Linked DNA regions of Homo sapiens: region 2 is linked to region 1. The links are contacts of gene promoters, found by promoter capture Hi-C in human tissues and cell types (Jung and others, 2019). All regions are on one chromosome and are shown on one strand. The core of a region is centred on a gene start or on the middle of the fragment in contact, and the rest is flanking DNA. Distances in the headings are between cores, read along the strand shown.

What was found. Contacts are between HindIII fragments. The study calls those that stand out against the background at their distance.
Region 2: a fragment that was not itself captured here is called in contact with the fragment with the promoter of TOE1 in region 1 in 1 of the 25 tissues and cell types used here (hippocampus).

Annotation. Positions count from the first base shown.
Region 1 is chr1:45,336,336-45,341,817 of GRCh38, forward strand. It overlaps TOE1 (target of EGR1, exonuclease), which reads left to right and starts at 3,835. Exons shown (of 8, transcript NM_025077.4): 1 at 3,835-3,969; 2 at 4,738-4,880; 3 at 4,968-5,008; 4 at 5,138-5,234. The coding sequence starts at 3,918. MUTYH (mutY DNA glycosylase) reads right to left here and starts at 3,635. Exons shown (of 16, transcript NM_001048174.2): 1 at 3,564-3,635. RefSeq lists enhancers at 3,157-3,824, 3,825-4,493, 3,846-4,195, 4,494-5,160. The HindIII fragment of the contact is 1,117 bases long and covers 3,688-4,804 here.
Region 2 is chr1:45,863,282-45,868,471 of GRCh38, forward strand. The region is part of intron 3 of MAST2 (microtubule associated serine/threonine kinase 2); the gene reads left to right. It overlaps LOC105378694 (a long non-coding RNA gene), which reads right to left. Exons shown (of 5, transcript XR_001738038.2): 5 at 4,603-4,690. Among named protein-coding and RNA genes, the nearest start is that of MAST2, 62 kb to the left of the region's middle. RefSeq lists a silencer at 4,456-4,750. The HindIII fragment of the contact is 3,476 bases long and covers 1-3,046 here.

The DNA.
Region 1 (5,482 bases), core at 2,585-5,084:
AATTTCTCTTCTACCCCTTGTCAGGCCTCTGAGCCCAAGCTAAGCCATCATATCCTCAGTAACCTGCACTTATACATCCAGATGGCCTGAAGCAACTGAAGATCTACAAAAGAAGTGAAAATAGCCTTAACTGATCACATTCCACCACTGTGATTTGTTTCTGCCCCACGCTAACTGATCAATGTACTTGGTAATCTCCCCCCCACCCTTAAGAAGGTTCTTTATAATCTCCCCACCCTTGAGAATGTACTTTGTGAGATCCACCCCCTGCCCCCAAAACATTGCTCTTAACTCCAATGCCTATCCCAAAACCTATAAGAACTAATGATAATTCCACCACCCTTTGCTGACTCCTTTTTTTCAGACTCAGCCTGTCTGCACCCAGGTGAAATAAACAGCCTTGTTGCTCAGACAAAGCCTGTTTGGTGGTCTCTTCACATGGACACACGTGAGACACCCCTCCCATAATCTGTTTTGCCAGATGGTATATAAACTCACGAACTCTGTAGGGAGATGGGTAATCACTTTATGGTTCTCCCAATGTGCATGTTAATAAATTTGTATGCCTTTTCTCCAGTTAACCTGCCTTTTGTGAGCTGATTTTTCAGCAGATCTTCAGAGGGCAAAGGGAAAGATTTTCCCCTTGGCTCGTAACACAATCAAATCCCACCCTCCTTCCCTTCATAGCCAAACTTCCTTCACCAAACCTGCTTACTTCCACATTCATTCTACAATCTATTCTCCAAAGAGCAAAGGAATCTTTTCCAGATCACGTCACTTCCTTCCTTATAACCTTCAATGGTTTCCCATTCTTTTTTTTTTTTTTGGGATGGGGTCTCACTCTGTCACCCAGGCTGGAGTGCAGTGGTGTGATCTTGGCTCACTGCAACCTCTGCTTCCTCGGCTCAAGCAATCCTCCCACCCCAATACCCCACCCCAACTCCAAGCAGCTGGGACCACAGGCGCACACCACCACCACATCCAGCTAATTTTTGTATTTTTGTTAGAGACAGGGTTTCACCATGTTGCCCAGGCTAGTCTCCACCTCCAGAGCTCAAGCAATCAACCCGCCTCGGCCTCCCAAAGTGCTGGGATACAGGCATGAGCCACGGCGCCTGGTGACACCCCATTATATTCTTTTATTTTCTTTCTTTTCTCTTTTTTTCTCCCTCCCTCTTTCCTTCCTTCCTTTTTTCCTTTTTCTTTCTTTTTTAAATACTGTAGGCCTTTACTATGGGTCATTAAATTCTTGAGCAAGCTGGTTGTGGTGGCTCAACACTGTAATCCTGCTACTCTGGAGGCTGAAGTGAAGAACAGCTTGAGCCCAGAAGGTCGAGGCTGCAGTGAGCTATGATTGTGCCACTGCACTCCACCCTGGGCTCAGCAAGACCTTGTCTCTTAAAGAAAAAAAAAGATTGAGCAAATATTTATAGAGCCCCCTAATATGTGCCAAGCAGTTTTAGGCACTTGGCATACTTCAGTAAATAAAACATCAAAAGTTCCTGCCCTCAGGGAGCTTATATTCTAATGGGGACAGAAAAGGAATAATGAACATAAGTAAATTCCATAAGATGTTAGGTGATAAATATTAGCATAAAAAGCAAAAATTAGACCAAGAGGGGAAAAAAAAGAGTGCCAAGGTGGGGTTTAATGTTGCAATTTTAAAGACTGTGGTCAAGGTAGACCCAAAGCATTCTAAGTGAGTGCAAAGGCCCCAAGGAGGGTGCCTGGTATGTCTGTGGTACAGTAAGTAGGTCAATGTGGTTAGAATGGAATGAGATGGGACTGAGTGGTAGAAGAGGTCAGAGAAGTAAACCAGATGAGGTGGGGAGAGGAGGGTCACAAAGTACCTTATAGGCCATTGGAGGGATTTGGCTGCCACACCCTTGCTCTTAGAAGGCAGTCCTCTTACTACAGCCTTGCAGGTCCAGTGATCCGGGCACCATCCGCCTCATCCCCTCACTATGCTCTAGCCAAGGTTGACTGAATTTAGTTGCTTAAACACCTCAAGTGTGTCTGCCCACCTTGGGGCCTCACACAATCCATTTCCTCTGTTTGGACTCTTTTATGCTTTTACCTAACACCTTATCATTTTTCAAGTCTTGACTGAAATGTCCAAATCAGGTCCCCTCATCTTATCCTATCACATATTTCTGCCTTGTAGCTCTTACCTAATGTAATTTTACATTACTTTGATTCTTTCCATCAGTGTGTACTTCCTGAATTTGACTGTAAAAAACGACTTGAGTGCAAGGACTGATTCTCTTGTTGATTGGTGTGTGTCCAAAGTCAGTGCCAGGTAAACTGTACACAATAGATACCTGTTAAATGAATTAATGGGATGGGGGATAGTCAAAAGAGTTTCCCTTTTTTAGGATAGGAGAAATCCAAAGAGTTTTTTTATTTTTGTTTTTTTTTTGTTTGTTTGTTTTGTTTTTAGAGACAGTGTGTCCCTCACTTTGCTGCTCTGCCACTCAGGCTGGAGTGCAATAAGAACATGGCTCACTGCAGCCTCGACCTCCTGGGCTCAAGCCATCCTCTCACCTCAGCCTCCTGTAGCTGGGACTACAGGTGCGCACCACCATGCCCAACTAATTTTTAATTTTCTTTTTGTAGAGACAAGGTTTCACTATGTTGCCCAGGCTAGTCTTGAACTCCTAGGGTCAAGCGATCCTCCCACCTTGGCCTCCTAAGATGATTACAGGCCATAAGCCACTGCGCCCGGCCCAAGCAGTTCTGAATAATGATGAAATGGGCTCAGTTGAGAGAAGCTGAAGATTAACTATAAACAATGAGTAACAAAGGAGCACTGGAAGGCAGAGGTGGATGGGAATCGTAGTGTTTACGGAGGGACTAGTCTCCAATAGGAATTTTTTTTTTTTTTTTTTTTTTGAGACGGAGTTTCGCTCTTGTTGCCTAGGCTGAAGTGCAAAATGGCGTGATCTCGGCTCACCGCAACCTCTGCCTCCCAGGTTCAAGCGATTCTCCTGCCTCAGCCTCCCAAGTAGTGGGATTACAGGCGCCCGCACCATACCCAGCTAATTTTTTTTGTACTTTTAGTAGAGACGGGGTTTCACCATGTTGGCCAGGCTGGTTTTGAACTCCGGACCTCAGGTAATCCGCCCGCCTCGGCCTCCCAAAGTGCTGGGATTACAGGCGTGAGCCACCGCGCCCGGCCTAGGAACCTCTTTCAAATTCAATCACCCTCTAGGTCGACTATACCGCCTAGCTGCTTCACAATTTGTCCCTTCCTCGCCATCCATACTGCCAGCCTTAATTCAAGTTCACATTATCACTTGATTGGATTATTACAAAAGCTTCCCTACCAATCGGTCGCTCTTACACCCTGGGCAGCCTCCTCCGATGGCCCACTCCCCGCCTCTTTCACTTTCTGGAGATCACTGAGCTCTCCATCCTCTCTGGGAATTTACCGATGCCCAGAACGCCCTTCTTTCCCCCACACGACCCTCTCCTAGTCTAACTCCTGGGCGTGCTTTAAGCTCAGCTCAGGCAGCGTCACCTTCTCTGGAAAGCCCAAACCCAGCCACCCCACTACCCGCTACCCGCGGCCCACGCTGATGAAGACAGCAGAACACGGAGGCCCCGCGTTCCCGCCGCGAGAGCAGGAGAGAAAGATTACCTCCCGCGAGCTCTAGCGCGCCCGGCTTTCCGGCGCACTCCAGGGGGCGTGGCTCGGGTCCACCCGGGCTGCGAGCCGGCAGCACAGGCCAATAGGCAATTAGCGCGCGCCAGGCTGCCTTCCCCGCGCCGGACCCGGGACGTCTGAACGGAAGTTCGACCCATCGGCGACCCGACGGCGAGACCCCGCCCCATCCCCGACTGCCTGAACCGCGCCAGGAGACGGACCGCAAGTCCAGCGTACCCACAGACGACTCAGGCGGGAGACGAGCGGTGTCATGGCCGCCGACAGTGACGATGGCGCAGTTTCAGCTCCCGCAGCTTCCGACGGTGAGCGGCTTCCCAGAGGTAGCCTTCAAAGCCTCTGCGCTCTGGGAGAGGGGAAGGCCTCGGGCTCATAGTTCTAGAGGCTCCTCAAGCTTCAGAGGACTGCTCCTTCCGCCTGAACTAGCCACGAGGAGACTACAAGTTCCGTTGTACACCGCGGCTCCGGCTGCAAAAGCCTGGAGCGTTGGGAGCATGGGGCTGATGGAGGCATGGCGGGAGATGTAGTCTGGAGCTCATAACGGTTAGTAGTAATAGTTGTGATTCAGTTCAGTGGAGTGGATTGAGCGTTGTGATCCAAAGGAAGGTAGGACGTATTGGGAGCTCTGGTGTGGGGCACTGCCAGGCTCTGGGGCTTACTGGGAGCTGTTGCTTGTGGCGCTGGGGCACCATGAGAACAGTAGTATGGATCCCTGTGGGATATTAAGGGAGCTGAGATCCTCAAGCCCTACAAAATGTTTCCTGCAGGACATGGGAAAAAAGAATCAAAGGTCGTCTAGTCCAACTTTCTCCTCTACAGATTGTGAAAGCGAGGTGGGAAGTAATTTACCCAGGCTCATACAAGCCAGTAGAAGACTCAGGCTTCCTCTCCCCAAATTCAGGGCATTCTCCACTCCAAGGCCTGTGTGTAGAACACGTGGGTTACAAAGGCTTGTGGGAAAAGCTACCAATGGAAACTACCCCCCTTACCACCATCACCGTGGCCTAGCTTGGTGTCTGTTCCCCTGGGCTCTTTCCTTAAGCATGAACATCCATCACCCTCCTAACCCCCAGGTGGTGTCAGCAAAAGCACAACATCTGGGGAGGAGCTAGTAGTCCAGGTTCCCGTAGTGGATGTGCAAAGCAACAACTTCAAGGAGATGTGGCCATCCCTCCTGCTAGCCATAAAGACAGCTAATTTCGTGGCTGTGGACACGGTGAGAGTTGGGAAACAAGGAGGGCAGGTGGTTGTGAAGGGGCTGGTGCTAGAGGCCTGTCACAACTCTCCCTTTACCTACCCACAGGAGCTGAGTGGGCTTGGGGACAGGAAGAGTTTGCTGAACCAGTAAGTATAAGCCCTTTTCTCTTTAGTGCCAGCCCTCAACTGTGGAGTGGGGGGGTCACAGACCTGGGTGGTTTGGGTCCTTCATAAGGCTAACTCCTAGCCACAGCAACCCCCATACCCAACCCCAAGGTGCATTGAGGAACGTTACAAGGCCGTGTGTCATGCTGCCAGGACCCGTTCTATCCTTTCCCTGGGCCTCGCCTGCTTCAAGCGGCAGCCAGACAAGGTATGAGCTGATCTCACCCCAATCCTAGGTGTGGCTGTGGGGTGGAGGGTAGAGAGATTCTAGGGAACATCAGATAGGAAGCATTTCTCTCCCAAATCTTTTTTTTTGACTTGATAGTTTTTTTTTTTTTATTTGAATAGGTTTATGGGGAACAGGTGGTGTTTGGTTAAATGAGTAAGTTCTTTAGTGGCAATTTCTGAGATTTTGGTGCACCTATCACCCAGTGTACACTGTGCCCAATGCGTAGT
Region 2 (5,190 bases), core at 59-2,558, 520 kb after region 1:
ATGACTTTAAAGGCCTATGACTTTGCAGACACTCATACAGTGTACAGCATACCCTATGCAAATCAGCTGTCTGTTCAGGTCTTGTGTTTGTTTTCCCCATAGACATAATCCAGCCGTTAGTTATTCAAAGCAGCAGATGGGAGAAGGAATCCGTGGAAATGTGGATTTATTAGCTCTCACAATGAAAGACCACACTGGTTATGCTAAGGATTAGAAGATTTCTGCTGAATGAAAGGGACATGGATCCTGTTTTTTGTGCTATTTTCAGCAGTGTGGCAATTTCTTATGACTATAATCAGTTGTAAAAAGACCAGAAAATGATCTTGTAAATAGACTTTCCTTCAAGCCCTAGACTGTTGGTTGCAGCTGTCATAATTATAGGAGGGACTGCTTTTCTTCCTTTTTGGGTGCAGACTGAATCTGGCCTTTAGCTATTGCTATATTTACACCTTAGGTAGTATAACTGGCTGATTGTGTGCTTTATACATACCTTTATCTGTCAAATTAGGGAATTTGGATTCGTGTCTCCTGAATTTTGTAGGAGAGTAATTATTGTAGCATGTCTTATAGTTTGGAAAAAATGATTGAATTTAATGTGTTAAACTCACTTCCTAAAAATATAATGCTGCCTTCACTAACAATTTTGTGTGTGTGACTTGTTAGAAAGATCAGCAACTTTCCTTTGTGTTTACTAAGATTCTGACAATTACCATAAAGTTGGAAAGTTTAAACGTTGCTTATGGAGTGTGTAAGGAACAGAATCATATCATGAGAACAATCTTTCACTCTTAAAATCTAAAAGATTATGTATTTTGAGCCATGAATTAAGAAACAGAAGCATCTTTAAACTTGGCTGAAGTTCTACTTTAAAAATGGCAGCCAGTAACCAAAGAAACAATTCTTGAGATCATTAAAGCTTGGATAAAATGAGACTTTTTCATGCTGTGCCCTTTTAGAAGTCTGGGGGAATGGGGAGCGTTTCCTGTGACAGCACTGTAAGTGATAAACAGCTGAATGAATTTGTCCATGCTCAGAACTCACAACACGTGGACTAGCCCCCTCCTGCACATAAAAGAGCAGGGAAACCGACCTTAGCAATGATCTAGCTCCTGAAGAAAGAGGCTTTCGTTACTGTCCAAGAAGTGAAGACCAGTGAGTCTAGCGATAAAGAAACAAAAGAGCCCCTGACAGTATCGAAAGAATCTGACATTTGCTTTGTCTGTACAAAGGATGAAAGGAATTTTGCCGACTTAGTCAAAACAATAACTGGTTTTATATCATTTTGAGTCTAAAATACAGGCATCAGAATCGTATGTTTTTCTTTGTATTTCTGAAGAATTGTCATCTTTTTAAAAACGTATGTGGAGTGGTTTTGTTTCTGGAAAGGAAAACGTGACATGGATTTTATAAGCTTAGTAGCTGTAGGTGGAGACTCTTGTTTTGTTTGCTAAACCTTTTTAATAAGCAGCAAAGTCAGGATATCAAAGATTGGAATTTTTCCCCCGGAACCTTTTGTTCTTTTCTTAGTACTTCAAATAATTTCAACCAAAGGGGTATGCATGGAAAATGAAAACAAATATGAAGTCTTTCCGCTATTTGGCAGTGCTTCAGATGAGATGTATCTATACTTCTGTGAAGAAAGACGTGATTCTGATATGAGGCAGTGATTGTATACTTACGCTGGACAGAGGGATAACTGGTTTAGTGGAACAGTGGGTTAGTGGTGTGCTGAAAGGATTGTTTGCCTCTTTATCCAGCAGTAAGTAGGCACTAGTAGTTGACTGTCTGGGGAGTGGCTTTTTTTTGTCTGATATCTATTATGGATGATTCCAGTATTCTGAGAAGGAGAGGGTTACAGGTGAGTAAAAGAAAACCTTTTTCACTGATCTCCTTCCTTTTAATGTCTCTTGTAAATGTACTGAACAGATTGTTATAATGTATTTAATTCATTTGAGGTAGGAGGCAGAGTGGAGTGCAGCTAAGTTCCTCTTTATTCTTTGATGTATAGTTATAATTAGAGAACTTATCTAAAATCTTGCTATTTTGATAGAAAAATGCTGCTTGGGCTTATTTACACTGTATTTAGTGAGTAGAGCAACTAAATCAGACCTGTATGGGATACAAGCCTAATTTAGAACATTAGACATTACTGCTGACAGATTGTTTACGGTGAACATATTCTGTTCCTGACCACCATGCCTGATCTGCCCACCATTAAGTCACATGTATGGTAGTATATGCTTGATTCTATGCATAGTTTTAAGAACTTTTCTAAATTATCACTTGGCATATACACATTCCATCCACTTATCTATTGTCTGTCTGTGTTGTCTGTCCATCCATCCGTCTGTCTGTCTACCTACCTACCTACCTACCATCTTTTCCTTCTTAAATCATAGGTAGTTTGTTAGATGAAGAGGTATGTAAGATATAACAGTGAATGAAAATAGACTGATAGGCAACCTTCAACTGAGTTTTAATGAATATCCTTAGCACTAAAAGAATACATGCCAAATTTGATGATTATTTTTTTCATGCTTTGTAGATTATCTCATCTTAGTCTTGTTAGCAAAGAGCAAGCCAGCTTCTAGTCTATCACTAAATGTTTTTGAGAATTGACATAATGAAGATTCTAGTGTAAATCACTGAGCTAATCAATCAACCTGTGATGGTTTAGTCATGAAATGTAGCTATTTCTGTTGTTTTCATTTTGTTTATTTGACATTATTTATAAAGCACTTTTTTTGTACAAAATACCTAAGGATTTTAAAATTATCATGAATTAACATTATTTTAGTTTCTTTAAAGTTCTCAGGTAGAAAATGTATAGGATTAGTAAACTTAAAATATAAATTTAAACAAATTGTATTGTTTCTAGTTATTATATGTACTTCTTATTGATGGTGCTGTAAACATTCAGAGCCCGTAGGGAGAACCCACTGAATCTTTAGCAGTTGACCAGTATGACCTGGGCTTTAAAAGTCAATAACATAAACTCCAGCGCCTTATACTAATTTCTCCTGTTAGCACAGTTGATTCGATGAGATTTGTCCCTTGATTTCTTGGGGTTATTTTGAGTAGTATTTATTTAGTACTGTACTCAGATGACCTCTCATAAGTAGTGATGTATGTTCAAGCAGCTGCTAATTAAAAATGGCTGGCTCTGTAAGCCCATTTAGTTGCACTGCTTATTTATATCTTTATTTCTCTTTAGTTGCTAGGATTCAGAAAGGGAATCCTATTTGTTGAATGGGAAATATTTTCTGTTTTGTGTTAAATCATTCATTTTCTCCCTGATGCCTGAGTCAGTCTCTAGTATTTGCTACCTTGTTTACTGATGCCCTTCCTCTCGAGTCTTTGTTTCTATCTAGCAGGAGTTCTAAACTGCCAGATTACATAGCACTGGAAGATCTTTTCCTACAGCCTTATACTTATAAAAAATTTTTCCCCTATTTATTTTGTCTACTTTTTTTTTTTTGAGATGGAGTCTCACTCTGTCACCCAGGCTGGAGGTGCAGTGGCGTGATCTTGGCTCATTGCAACCTCTGCCTCCCAGGTTCAAGTGATTCTCCTGCCTCTGCCTCCGGAGTCGAGTAGCTGGGGCATTACAGGCATGTGCCACCACACCTGGCTAATTTTTTGTATTTTTAGTAGAGACGGTGTTTCACCATGTTGGCCAGCCGGGTCTCAAACTCCTGACCTCAGGTGATCCACCCGCCTCGGCCTCCCAATTGCTGGGATTGCAGATGTGAGCCACCGCACCCAGCCTATTTTGCCTATTTTTAAAAAATAAACTTTAAGGTTCATTCTCCAGAAGATTGCTTTGGAACATTCCAAAACAGAGCTAACGCTTGAAAAGCAGCAGTTTAGATTATTTGTTTTAAATAGTTACATTATAATATAAAGATTTAAAGGTAAGTTTTATTAATAGATTTATATAAATAAACACACAAAGGTAAAGTGTGCCTGGTGGTACAGGTAATCTACTGGGTAACCTCAGATTTGAAGGTGAAAATCCAAATAAATATTTGGCTTCGCTAATTGCTTTCTGGTGAAATAGATTTCCTAAAACTTTTCCAGAAGATCAGCTAAGACACAGCCTACTTTGATACCTCCAGGTTTTTCCGCAGAGTTTCTTGGGGAGGTAGCAGAATAGTAAATAGGGCATTTAGAAGTTCCGTGACAGCAAAGACCTTGTCTATTTTGTTCAAATTACAGTTCTGCCATGTTCTAGTCATATAACCACAGCCAAATTTCATTTCATTTCTGTACTCCACTGGTATATTGAGAGTAGACAGTGGAGGCAAGGGCTGCAGCAAAAAGACCAATTATGAGACTGTTGTGGTCAAAAAAAGCAAGAAATAATAACAGATTGGAGGGGTGATAGCAGTGGACGATGTGGAGGACTTTCTTATTGGCCATTTTTACAGATACGTGAAGCTCAGTAGCTTCCTCAAGGACAGACAAGTAGGTGTATGGCCAGGCTAGATGTATAGGTTAGGGTACTCTGAACTACAAGTAACAGAAATTTTGACTCTGAGTGGTTTAAATGTTAGGTAAATGTATTGACTCACAACAATGAAGTCCAGAGGTTGGATGGGTTTCAGAGTTGGGTAGTCTGGTGTATTTGCTCAGCTTCATTGCTCTTTTGCCTTCCTCTGTGTTTTGGCCTCATTCTCAAGCTTGCTTCCTATGTGTTAGAAAAAGAACTGTAGCAGTTTCAGTCTGCACAGTCACACACTACAACATCCCTACATCTTAATGGTAAAAGGACATCTGGGAGATTATGTGTGAGCATCTTTTCTTTACACTGGAGGAGCCTCTGTCGGTGTAGGAATTGACACTGTTTTGCTTGAAAAGCTGTTCAAGTTGGGTCTTTTTTGTGGTAAAAATTGGCTTTCATCTTACATCTACTTTTGAAGCATCTACACATGGAGAGACATTTGAGATTGAAGTTCCTTGTGAATTGAAGGAGGTGCTTTTATACTTGCCCTGTTTCCCAATCAACTTTATGGGGGATGATTTTAACTTTGAAAGGTCAGGGACTAGCCACCATAAGCAAATTTTTGTTATCAACTCTCTTAGTGCCATAATTTCCACATTATTTGCCCATAAGGCACATATAGTAATCTGTCTTCATTGTATAGACAGTGCAATTTCCCAGGTTCTGAATTGAAAATATTTGTTGTG